Regions from separate parts of the Homo sapiens genome. Here region 1 is linked to region 2. Evidence: promoter capture Hi-C in human tissues and cell types (Jung and others, 2019). All regions are on one chromosome and are shown on one strand. The core of a region is centred on a gene start or on the middle of the fragment in contact, and the rest is flanking DNA. Distances in the headings are between cores, read along the strand shown. Region 1 overlaps ADAMTS10 (ADAM metallopeptidase with thrombospondin type 1 motif 10). Region 2 holds the start of ELAVL1 (ELAV like RNA binding protein 1).

Region 1 (5,220 bases), core at 2,151-4,650, 590 kb before region 2:
GTGGATCACCTGAGGTCAGGAGTTCAAGACCAGCCTGGCTAACATGGTGAAACCCCGTCTCTACTAAAAATACAAAAATTAGCTGAGCGTGGTGGTGGGCACCTGTAATCCCAGCTACTTGGGAGGCTGAGACAGGAGAATCGCTTGAACCCGGGAGGCAGAGGTTGCAGTGAGCCAAGATCGCACCATTGCACTCCAGCCTGGGCAACAAGAGGGAAATTCCATCTCAAAATAGATAGATAGATGATAGATAGGTAGCTCACAGGTACTCGTTGAGGTTAGCAGTACACACACAGGCACACATCCGTATTCACGCAGCATTCTTGCACAAGCACCTACTTATAAATTCCTACAGGCTGACCTCCCCAACCCACCTTCAGATATAGTCCATTTCCATCCTAGATCTCAGGCGAGATTCTTGACCTCTCTAAGCCTCAGCGTACCAGTGTATCAAATGGAGATATAATGGTAGCTACCCTAGAGAGTAAGGATTGGTGGAAGGGAAGCCAGGTAGGCTATTTGGCACATAGTAAGGGCTTGATGAATGGTGCTCTTGTTTCACTGAAGCAAAAGGGAAAACAAAAAGTTTAGCAGACAGGCAGAGGGTCCAAAATGTTGTGTAGTGTCGTCTCTGATGGCCCTCAGTTGTGCCTGAGCCTGGCCTCTCTCCCTAGGGCTTTCAGAATTTCCTGGGGGTTTCCAGCCCGGTGCAGTGGCTCACGCCTGTAATCCCAACACTTTGGGAGGCCGAGGCGGGTGGATCACCTGAGGTCGGGAGTTCGAAACAAGCCTGGCCAACATGGTGAAATCCTGTCCCTACTAAAAATACAAAAATCAGCTGGGCGTGGTGGCGGGCACCTGTAGTCCCAGCTACTCCGGAGGCTGAGGCTGGAGAATCGCTTGAACCCGGGAGGTGGAGGTGAGTGAGCCAAGATTGCGCCACTGCACTCCAGCCTGGGTAACAGAGTGAGACTCCATCTCCAAAAAAAAAAAAAAAAAAAAAAAAAAAATTCTGGGGATTTCCAGACGGGGAAATGATTACCCAGGGTTCCAAGATCCCTGCACAGCCTGGCCTCTGTCTTCTGTGCCAGCTCATCCCTGGGGCTGCTTCCTCCTTTCCTCTGACCACTGTCTCCAGAGCCTCCTGCCCTCACAGTTTTACTTTCCTGTGGTGATGGGCAAATTGGTACCTTCAGACAGCTGTGGAATGAACTCAGACATGTATATCCCTCAGGTCGCCTCTGGACAAAGATGCTTGAGGCAGTCAGGGGGGTAAGCAGGGGTTGGGGGACAAGTAGATAAGCTGAGCTTGGAGGAGTCTGAAAGAAATGTTCTGGTAAGCAATCCAGACTTGAGTCTCACTTCTGACACCTACCAGCTGTGTCCTAACCTCTGTTTGCATGTCTCCTCATCTGTAAATTGGGGATGATAATAGCACCTGTTGATGAAAAGACTGATGCATGGCCAGGCATGGTGGCTCACACCTGTGATCCCAGCACTGTGCCAGGCCAGGACAGGAGGATCGCTTGAGGTCAGGAGTTCAAGACCAGCCTGGCCAACATGGTGAAACCCAGTCTCTACTAAACATACAAAAATTAGGCGGGCATGGCTGGGCACGGTGGCTCACGCCTGTAATCCCAGCTACTCGGGAGGCTGAGGCAGGAGAATCGCTTGAACCCAGGAGGCGGAGGTTGCAGTGAGCTGAGATCACACCATTGTACTCCACCCTAGACAAAAAGAGCAAAACTCTGTCTCAAAAAAAAAAAAATTAAGTGGGCATAGTGATGTGCGCCTATAGTCTCAGCTACTTGGGAGGCTGAAGCAGTAGAATCATTTGAACCTGGGAAGTGGAGGTTACAGTGAGCTGAGATTGCACCGCAGCACTGCAGCCTGGGCAACAGAGCGAGACTCCATCTCAAAAAACAACAACAACAAATAGTAACAACAGCAAATATTACCTATTCATGAAAAGACTGATACATGGCTGGGCATGGTGGCTCACACCTGTAATCCCAGCCCTATGGGAGGCCAGGCAGGAGGATCACTTGAGGTCAGGAGTTCAAGACCAGCCTGAGCAACATACCAAGACCCCCATCTTTAACAACAACAGCAACAAAAAACCCTAATAGCAGGTTTAGCCTAAGACCCGACACACAGTAGGTGCCTGATGAAAGCAAGCTGTTATCATTGTTTTTGCTTTTCATTTTCTACCCTGGGCTCCTCTTAAGACTCGGTCTCTCTTGTTTCTTGGAGGTCAGGTTGCCAAACTTTTCCAGGACTCGAGTCTGGGAAGCACCGTTAACATCCTCGTAACTCGCCTCATCCTGCTCACGGAGGACCAGGTGCGGGGGACTTCCTCCCCTTCCCCTTCCCCTTCATACCAGCATGTCCTGCCGTCCCCTGGGTGGTGGGTGCCCATGCATTTCCCTCTGTCCATCCCCAGCCCACTCTGGAGATCACCCACCATGCCGGGAAGTCCCTGGACAGCTTCTGTAAGTGGCAGAAATCCATCGTGAACCACAGCGGCCATGGCAATGCCATTCCAGAGAACGGTGTGGCTAACCATGACACAGCAGTGCTCATCACACGGTGAGGGGACAGGAGAGGTCTAGGACTGGGGCTGAGAAAACAGATGGTCCAGGGAACCATGAGAGTCCAAACAGAGATCACTTCTGCTAGGGTCAGGAGGAGCAGAGAAGTTTGGGCTGCCCATGAGGGAGCCAGGGATGGGGAGGGGCTGCTTGAGAATAATGGGTAAGGGAGGTTTGGGACCATTTGGGCACCGATGCCCTCATTCACTTATTCTCCCACTCATGCATGCATGCATGCATTCATTCATTCATGTGGTCAGTCACTCCTGTATGCAGCTTCAGGTGAGAGGCAGATGGCGCCTCCAAGGCAGGACTCAACCCCCAGAGCTGGGCATGGTGGCATCAGCAGGGCTTAGGGAGACAGCCCAGCCCCCTCACTGACCCTGTCTCCTTTTACAGCTATGACATCTGCATCTACAAGAACAAACCCTGCGGCACACTAGGTACCCGAGCCCCGTAGGTTTCAGGCGCCTATGAAGGCAGTGGGCTGGGGTGAGACCTGGCAGGTGGATGGGGCCAGCCAGCACCGTCCTGAGCCTCCCAGCCCCATCCCCACATGTCCGTCTTCCCAGGCCTGGCCCCGGTGGGCGGAATGTGTGAGCGCGAGAGAAGCTGCAGCGTCAATGAGGACATTGGCCTGGCCACAGCGTTCACCATTGCCCACGAGATCGGGCACACGTGAGGCCAGGGCACACAAGAGGGGGAGGAGGGGAGGAGCTGGGCGGGTCCCTCAGCGCCCGGCAGAGCCGACACCCCTTTCCCCAGATTCGGCATGAACCATGACGGCGTGGGAAACAGCTGTGGGGCCCGTGGTCAGGACCCAGCCAAGCTCATGGCTGCCCACATTACCATGAAGACCAACCCATTCGTGTGGTCATCCTGCAGCCGTGACTACATCACCAGCTTTCTAGAGTGAGGATGCACCTGGGTGTCCCTCAGAGCGGGTCACACTCATGGTGGGGCAGGGTACACGGGAGACGATAGAAATCAGGGATGCTCCCTGGGACCCCCATCCAGCTGAGGCTCCTGAGCTCTTGATTTGCAGCCACCTAGCATGACAGTTGCTTTTCTCTCGAGGCAGCTCGGGCCTGGGGCTCTGCCTGAACAACCGGCCCCCCAGACAGGACTTTGTGTACCCGACAGTGGCACCGGGCCAAGCCTACGATGCAGATGAGCAATGCCGCTTTCAGCATGGAGTCAAATCGCGTCAGTGTAAATACGGGGTAGAGAGAGTCTTCCTGCTTTCCTTCCTGGGAGGGGAGGGGGCCGCTGGGGCTGGGGGAGGGAACTCCACCAGGGCACCCACCTGGGAAGTGAGGGGGTGGGAGAACCGGGAAGGGGGGTGAGGTGAGCCCCCATGGTGACCTGGGAGGACAGAGGTGCATGGAGTGTGCAAAATGTCCTAAGCAATCAGACAGTGCTTGGGAACAAAAATGGGATCACCTGCTTCTCCAGACCCCTGATTTGAGGGCTGGGCTGGGGGGCCAGCTTCTGTCTGGCACATCACACCCCCTGTGGGCTACAGCAGGATCAAAGTCTCAAGACCTCTCACGGGGCAGTTTTTAACTAAACATCCAGTCCTGACGGAAATAATTTCCCTGGGGATGAGCCATCTTTCCTACTTGGCAAAGAACTAGACAGAACCTTCCAGGGACTCCCTGTCTGGAGGAGCTCTGAGCCTCCTGACCTCTCCCCACCCTTTCCTGAGGTTTAGATTCCCAAAGCCCCATTCGTGCATAGAGAAGGGCATTGGGGGGCAGGAGGTTCCACTCCCAGCTCCCCCCAGGAAGCTGAAGACCTGCTGGCTTCCTGCTTCAGCCACCAAGGTTCAGCCAGGATCTGCTCCTCCTCTGCCCACCTGCCTCGATTCCCTAAATGCACCCCTAAGCTCCTCACAGTCTCAGCCCTAGGGGCCCAGGTTCAGCCCCAGTTCTTCACACTATCACAACTCAAACGATCAGAGTTTTTGTGATGCCATGTTAATGCAAAGCAGAGGGCAAGCAGCTGCCAAATTGCCCTCCCTTCATTCCACTGCAAGACAGAGACAAACCCTGGAACAATTTCTATTTCACTGACATTCCACCCTTGACACCCCCCAACATCCTAACTTAGCTGGTAACTGCAGCACCCTCTAAGGAATTCCTAAAGAATTCTGAAGCTACTCCTCAACATCTGCTGTGACCCAGGTATCCTAACAATGATCATGGTGTCTGACATTTACTGAGCTCTCACTATGGGCTAAGCATGTGCTGTGTGTCACCATCTAAACTCCTGACAATCCTGCTAGCCCCCACGTTACAGAGGAAGGGACTGAGCCATAGCATAGGGAGGATGACTTGTCCAAGGCCACAGTTTGAGACCATGACAGAGCTGGGATTTAAATCCAGGTCTCTCATGACTCTCTAAATTTTACAAAGGGGCAGGGGAGGGGAGGAGCTGTCAAAATATCAAGCTTGGGCTGGCACTGGCTATATGTTGAATTGAGCCTTCCTTTTAGTTTTTGAAGGAACATCTTTCAGGCCATCTTGGCAAAGGGGGATTTATTTACTAAATGTGAACTGGTTAATATATGTAAAGGGTTCAGCCTGGTGCCTGGTCCAGAGATAGTGGTGGTCATTGTTACCCCATA
Region 2 (5,281 bases), core at 1,492-3,991:
GCAGGAGAATCGCTTGAACCCGGGATGGGGAGGTTGCAGTTAGCCGAGATCCCGCCACTGCACTCCAGCCTTGGCAACAGAGTGAGACTCTGTCTCAAAAAAATAAGAAAAAAAAAGCATGCAGGAAAGAAAAAGGACACAAAGTATCTTCTATTTTGGAAAGATAACAGATGCAAAACATCCTGTATTTTAAAATATTGACTACATGTTTAAATAATAACATATTCAACCTACTGAGTTAAATAAAACACATTACAACTAACATCACCCGTTTCTTTTTACTTATTTTTAAACATGGCTAACAATGTACCAATTTAAATTACATACCTCGCTGACAAATCTGTGGCTTGCTTATACTGTTTTTTTGAGATGTAATTTCCCTCTTTCACCTAGGCTGGAGTGCAGTGGCGGGATCTCGGCTCACTGCAACCTCCACTTTCCAGTTTCAAGCGATTCTCCTGCCTCAGCCTCCCGAGTAGCTGGGATTACAGGCTCCTGCCACCACGTCCAGCTAATTTTTGTATTTTTAGTAGAGACTGGGGTTTCAACATGTTGGCCAGGCTGGTCTCGAACTACTGACCTGGTGATCTGCCCGCCTCGGCCTCCCAAAGTGCTGGGATTACAGGCGTGACCTACTGTGCCTGGCCTGCTTTGTTTATACTTCTATTGCACCGTGATGACCCAGAATGCTGGCTACTATAAAATTTAACAATTAAATGTTAAATTTAACATTTAATTGAGCTAGGTGTGGTGGCACGTGCCTATAATCCCAGCTACTTGGGAGCCTGAGGCAGAAGGACTGCTTGAGGTCAGGAGTTAAACCTGTGGGATGATTGCACCTGTGAACAGCCACTGCACTCCAGCCTGGGCAACACAGTGAGACCCAATCTCTAAAAAGCTTTCCTAGGCCGGGTGGTGGCTCATGCCTGTAATCCCAGCACTTTGGGAGGCCGAGGTGGGTGGATCACTTGAGGCCAGGAGTTTGAGACCAGCCTGGCCAACATGGCAAAACCCCATCTCTACTAAAACCACAAGAATTAGCTGGGTGTGATGTTGCACGCCTGTGATCCCAGCTACTTGGGAGGCTGAGGCACGAGAATCACTTGAATAGGGAGGCAGAGGTTGCAGTGAGCTGAGATCACACCACTGCATTCCAGCCTGCACAGCAGAGTGAGACCCTGTCTCCAAAAAAAAAAAAAAAAAAAAAAAAAACTTCTAAGAAAATATGATTAAAAAAAGAAACAGGCTGGGCACCGTGGCTCCCGCCTGTAATCCCAACACTTTGGGAGGCCAAAGCAGGAGGATCACTTAAGTCTAGAAGTTTGAGACCAGCCTAGGCAATACAGCAAGACCTCATCGCTACAAAAAAATAAAACATTAGCCAGGCATAGTGGCACATCCTGTAGTCTAAGCTACTCAGGAATCTGAAGCCGGAGGATTGATTGCCTGAGCTGGGGAAGTTGAGGCTGCAGTTAGCTGTGATCATACCACCGCACTCCAAATTGGGTGACAGAGTGAGATCCTGTCTCAAAAAAAAAAAAAAAAAAAGAAAAACAAAATTGTAGGCCAGGCGCAGTGGCTCAAGCCTGTAATCCCAGCACTTTGGGAGGCTGAGGCGGGCAGATCACGAGGTCAAGAGATACAGATCATCATGGCCAACACGGTGAAACCCCGTCTCTACTAAAAATACAAAAATTAGCTGGTTGTGGTGGCGCAGCGCCTGTAGGCCCAACTACTTAGGAGGCTGAGGCAGGAGAATCGCTTGAACCTGGGAAGCGGAGGTTGCAGTGAGCGGAGATCACGCCACTGCACTCCAGCCTGGCGACAGAGCGAGTCTCCGTCTCAAATAAATAAATAAATAAATAAAAATAAAAAGACTATTATTTTCAGATCATAAAAAAAAAAAAGAAAAAATTAGGCAGAGTGCAGGCATGCCTGTAATCCCAGCTCTTTGGGAGGCGGAGGCAGGAGAATCGCTTGAGTCCAGGAGTTCGAGACCAGCCTGGGCAACAGAACCAGAGCCCATCTTTACATAAAAAAAAATTAAACATGTAGCTTGCATGTATTTCTACTAGGGCATTCTAGGCCAGCGCTGGTTTAGAATGTTAGCCCAATAAGACCAGGTATTTTTTTTCTGCTCACTGCCCATACAGTGATTGACACACAGTAGGCGCTCAATGACATTTTAATGAATGAATGAGATGCTGAGCCTTCGGGAACTGGCTTGCTCAAAGAGCCAGCACCGATGAAGCGCTGACCACGTTCCATGCCCCGCCTCCTCAGCGCACCAGAGAAGGAAACTGAGGCCCGGCAAGGTGACGTCAGCTCCTGCCCAACGGCACGTAGTGCGGAAACGTCGGGGCCGGGATTCGAACCCAGGTTCTGTACCCGTAACCCCGGCGCGCTGACCTTTCCTACCTTACCGGGCGGCGGCAGGACAGACAGGTGCGGGACACACGGCGAGCGCTCAACCAGAGGCGCCGCTCCTCAGCCACCGCCTTCCGTCAGCCTCCGAGGGCCGGAACCCAGTTCGCCCCCTCCGCGGCCATCGCTGGCTGCCCGCGTCTCCGCCGGCCGCGGAGCACTTCGCAGGCGGCGCCGACCGGAAGTCCCGCCTCTCCCGCGCGCCCCGGAGCGCCGCGACAGCTACGCCGGCCAATGAGCAGCGCGCCGTGGCGGACGTCGGCCAATGGGCTCGCGCGCGGGGGGGGCGTGTCCGGGCCGCGGGCCGGAGCGGGTCGTGCGCGCTGAGGAGGAGCCGCTGCCGCCGTCGCCGTCGCCGCCACCGCCGCCACCGCTACCGAGGCCGAGCGGAGCCGTTAGCGCCGCGCCGCCGCCGCCTCCCGCCCGCCCCGGAGCAGCCCCGGGCCCGCCCGCCCGCATCCAGGTGAGGCGGTGGGGGGCCTTCGGCGGCGCCCGACGGGGTAGGCCGCGGCAGGCCTGAGCTCGCCTGGCCTGGCCGCGGGGCGCCCGCGGGCCTGCACCGGCCGAGGCCCAGGCCGCGCCGGACCGGGGGAGGGGACGCGCGCTGGGGCCGCGGCGGGCGGGTCGGGGCGGGCCGGTGTGGGCGCCGGCTACAGGCCCCGGGGCCGGATTCCTCTGGCGCCTCGAGGGACGGGCGAGGGGGATACGGCGTGGGCATGCGCCGGGGGGCCGGGCTGCACGGCCGGGGGCCCCGGTCGCCTTGGAAGCCCGGGCTCCGGGGGCGGGAGAGTGGGGCCAGCTACGGGGGAGCGCCGGGAACGCTTTGAGCGCGCAGAGGTCACGGCCCACGGGCTTGCTCCCCCGGGAAATCCCACAGATTCTTTTGTGGTCGTTGTCAGAGCACCGCGGCCGGTGCGAGGTCCTTTGAGAAGTGTGCAAACCCTTCAGTAGATACACGGGAGTCCTGGGGGAAAAAAAAAATCTAAACTGCATCTTTTTTTGAGCGCCATCTCTAACAAAGCTGTTTGTGGGGCGTGGGACGTTAGGATTTGTAAAATATGTGTGTGTGCCTGTTGGAAACACAAGCTGCACACAGTTGAACAATGGGGGATGGATGCCCTTCCTTCCTTTTCCGGTGCTCTGGGCTGCGGGGCTTGTTAAAATGGGTTTTGGTCCCTACTGTGTGCAGGGCAGGTGGAGAAGAACTTCTGCACAACTTCTGCATGGGCTTCCCGTGGTGGGACTGAGCCCCCTTGCTAGAAAGTGTTCATCTAAGATCCGGATGGCCAGAAATGGGAAGATGAGGAGAATGATCTGTCTAGAGCAGGGTTTCTCGACGTTGGCCCTACTGATGTTTGGGGTCAGATAGTTTTTGGTTGTGGTGGTAGTGGGGGCTTCCCTGTGCAATGTAGGAAGTTGAGCCGTATTCCTGGCCTCTACCCACTAGATGCCAGCAGTATCCCCATGCTCCAAGTCGTGAGGATCAAAAGTATCTCCAAACATTGCCAGATGGCTCGGGTTGCGGGGGAGGGGTCTCTTCCACTCTCACACGCACAGGTGAGAACCATTACTGAACTAAATGCTCTTCCTCCAAAAGTTCTAATGCCCTGGGAGATGCTCCCAAGACCTCGAACAAGCTTGACTCTGTTGAGCCTTAGTTTTCTTATCTATAAAATGGGAAGGACAAAAGTGTGGTGCAAATTGAAGAGGGTGGAAATCCCGTTGCGTTGTGCGTGGTCTGTGCCTGGTAGGCACTGAATAAATGATGTTGTACATAGCCACCAGTATTTATTGAGGATTTACTATGTGCTTGACACTTTGTGGACGTTTGTCTGCAGTCCTTGAGGCAGGTGATGTTATAATTTCCATTAATTTCCATTTTAGAGATGAAGAAACTGAGGCTTAGATGGGTCACTTGATGTGACCAGTCTCATGCACTAAAGTGGCTGCGCCAGGGTTTGAACTCGGGCCCTCTGATTCAAAACCCTTACTCTTAACCACTCGATTGTACTGCTCCTATAATCACAAGGCTCCAGGGCACTCCAGTTGTCATCGAATATTTTCTGTGTGCAAAGTTCTGTGCTGGGATCTATTATCAAATTCTGCAACTTCGAGGCCCACAAAGAGGTTGAGATACACGAACGTCTCAAATGTGGAAGGAAATAATACTGTTTATGTTGATGCATTGGTTTTGAGCAGACAGAGTTTCAGTCTGGATGTGTTGAGTCTGAGATCATGGTGCTATTTCTTTTTTTTTTTTTTTTTTGAGACGGAGTCTCACTCTGCCGCCCAGGCTGGAGTGCAGTGGTGCGATCTCGGCTCACTGCAAGCTCCGCCTCCCGGGTTCACGCCATTCTTCTGCCTCAGCCTCCCGAGTAGCTGGGACTACAGGCGCCGGCTACCACGCCCGACTAATTTTTTGTACTTTTAGTAGAGACGGGGTTTCACCGTGTTAGCCAGGATGGTCTCGATCTCCTGACCTTGTGATCCGCCCGCCTCGGCCTCCCAAAGTGCTGGGATTACAGGCGTGAGCCACCGCGCCCGGACCATGGTGCTATTTCTTTTTTTTTTTTTTTCTTTTTCTTTTTTTTTTTTTTTTTTTGAGACAGTTTCACCCTTGTTGCCCAGGCTGGAGTGCAGTTGTGCCATCTCAGCTCACTGCAACCTCAGCCTCCCAAGTAGCTGGGATTACAGGCAGCCGCCACCACGTCCAGCTAATTTTTTGCATTTTTAGTAGAGGTGGGATTTCGCCTTGTTGAGCAGGCTGGTCTCGAACTCCTGACCTCAGGTGATCCACCCGCCTTGGCCTCCTAAAGTCCTGGGATTACAGGTGTGAGCCACCGCGCCCAGCCCATGG

What was found. The method cuts DNA at HindIII sites, captures the fragments that hold promoters and counts their contacts. A contact is called where the count stands out against the background at its distance.
Region 1: a contact is called between a fragment that was not itself captured here and the fragment with the promoter of ELAVL1 in region 2, in 1 of the 25 tissues and cell types used here (dorsolateral prefrontal cortex).

What each region holds. Positions count from the first base shown.
Region 1 is chr19:8,594,356-8,599,575 of GRCh38, reverse strand. ADAMTS10 (ADAM metallopeptidase with thrombospondin type 1 motif 10) reads left to right here. Exons shown (of 26, transcript NM_030957.4): 7 at 2,259-2,342; 8 at 2,444-2,589; 9 at 2,991-3,034; 10 at 3,164-3,269; 11 at 3,357-3,503; 12 at 3,673-3,814. Among named protein-coding and RNA genes, the nearest start is that of ADAMTS10, 14 kb to the left of the region's middle. The HindIII fragment of the contact is 8,071 bases long and covers 1-5,220 here.
Region 2 is chr19:8,003,101-8,008,381 of GRCh38, reverse strand. It overlaps ELAVL1 (ELAV like RNA binding protein 1), which reads left to right and starts at 2,741. Exons shown (of 6, transcript NM_001419.3): 1 at 2,741-2,887. LOC105372266 (a long non-coding RNA gene) reads right to left here and starts at 2,569. Exons shown (of 4, transcript XR_936302.2): 1 at 2,424-2,569; 2 at 1-89. RefSeq lists silencers at 2,366-2,855, 3,086-3,285, 3,316-3,365. The HindIII fragment of the contact is 8,326 bases long and covers 1-5,281 here.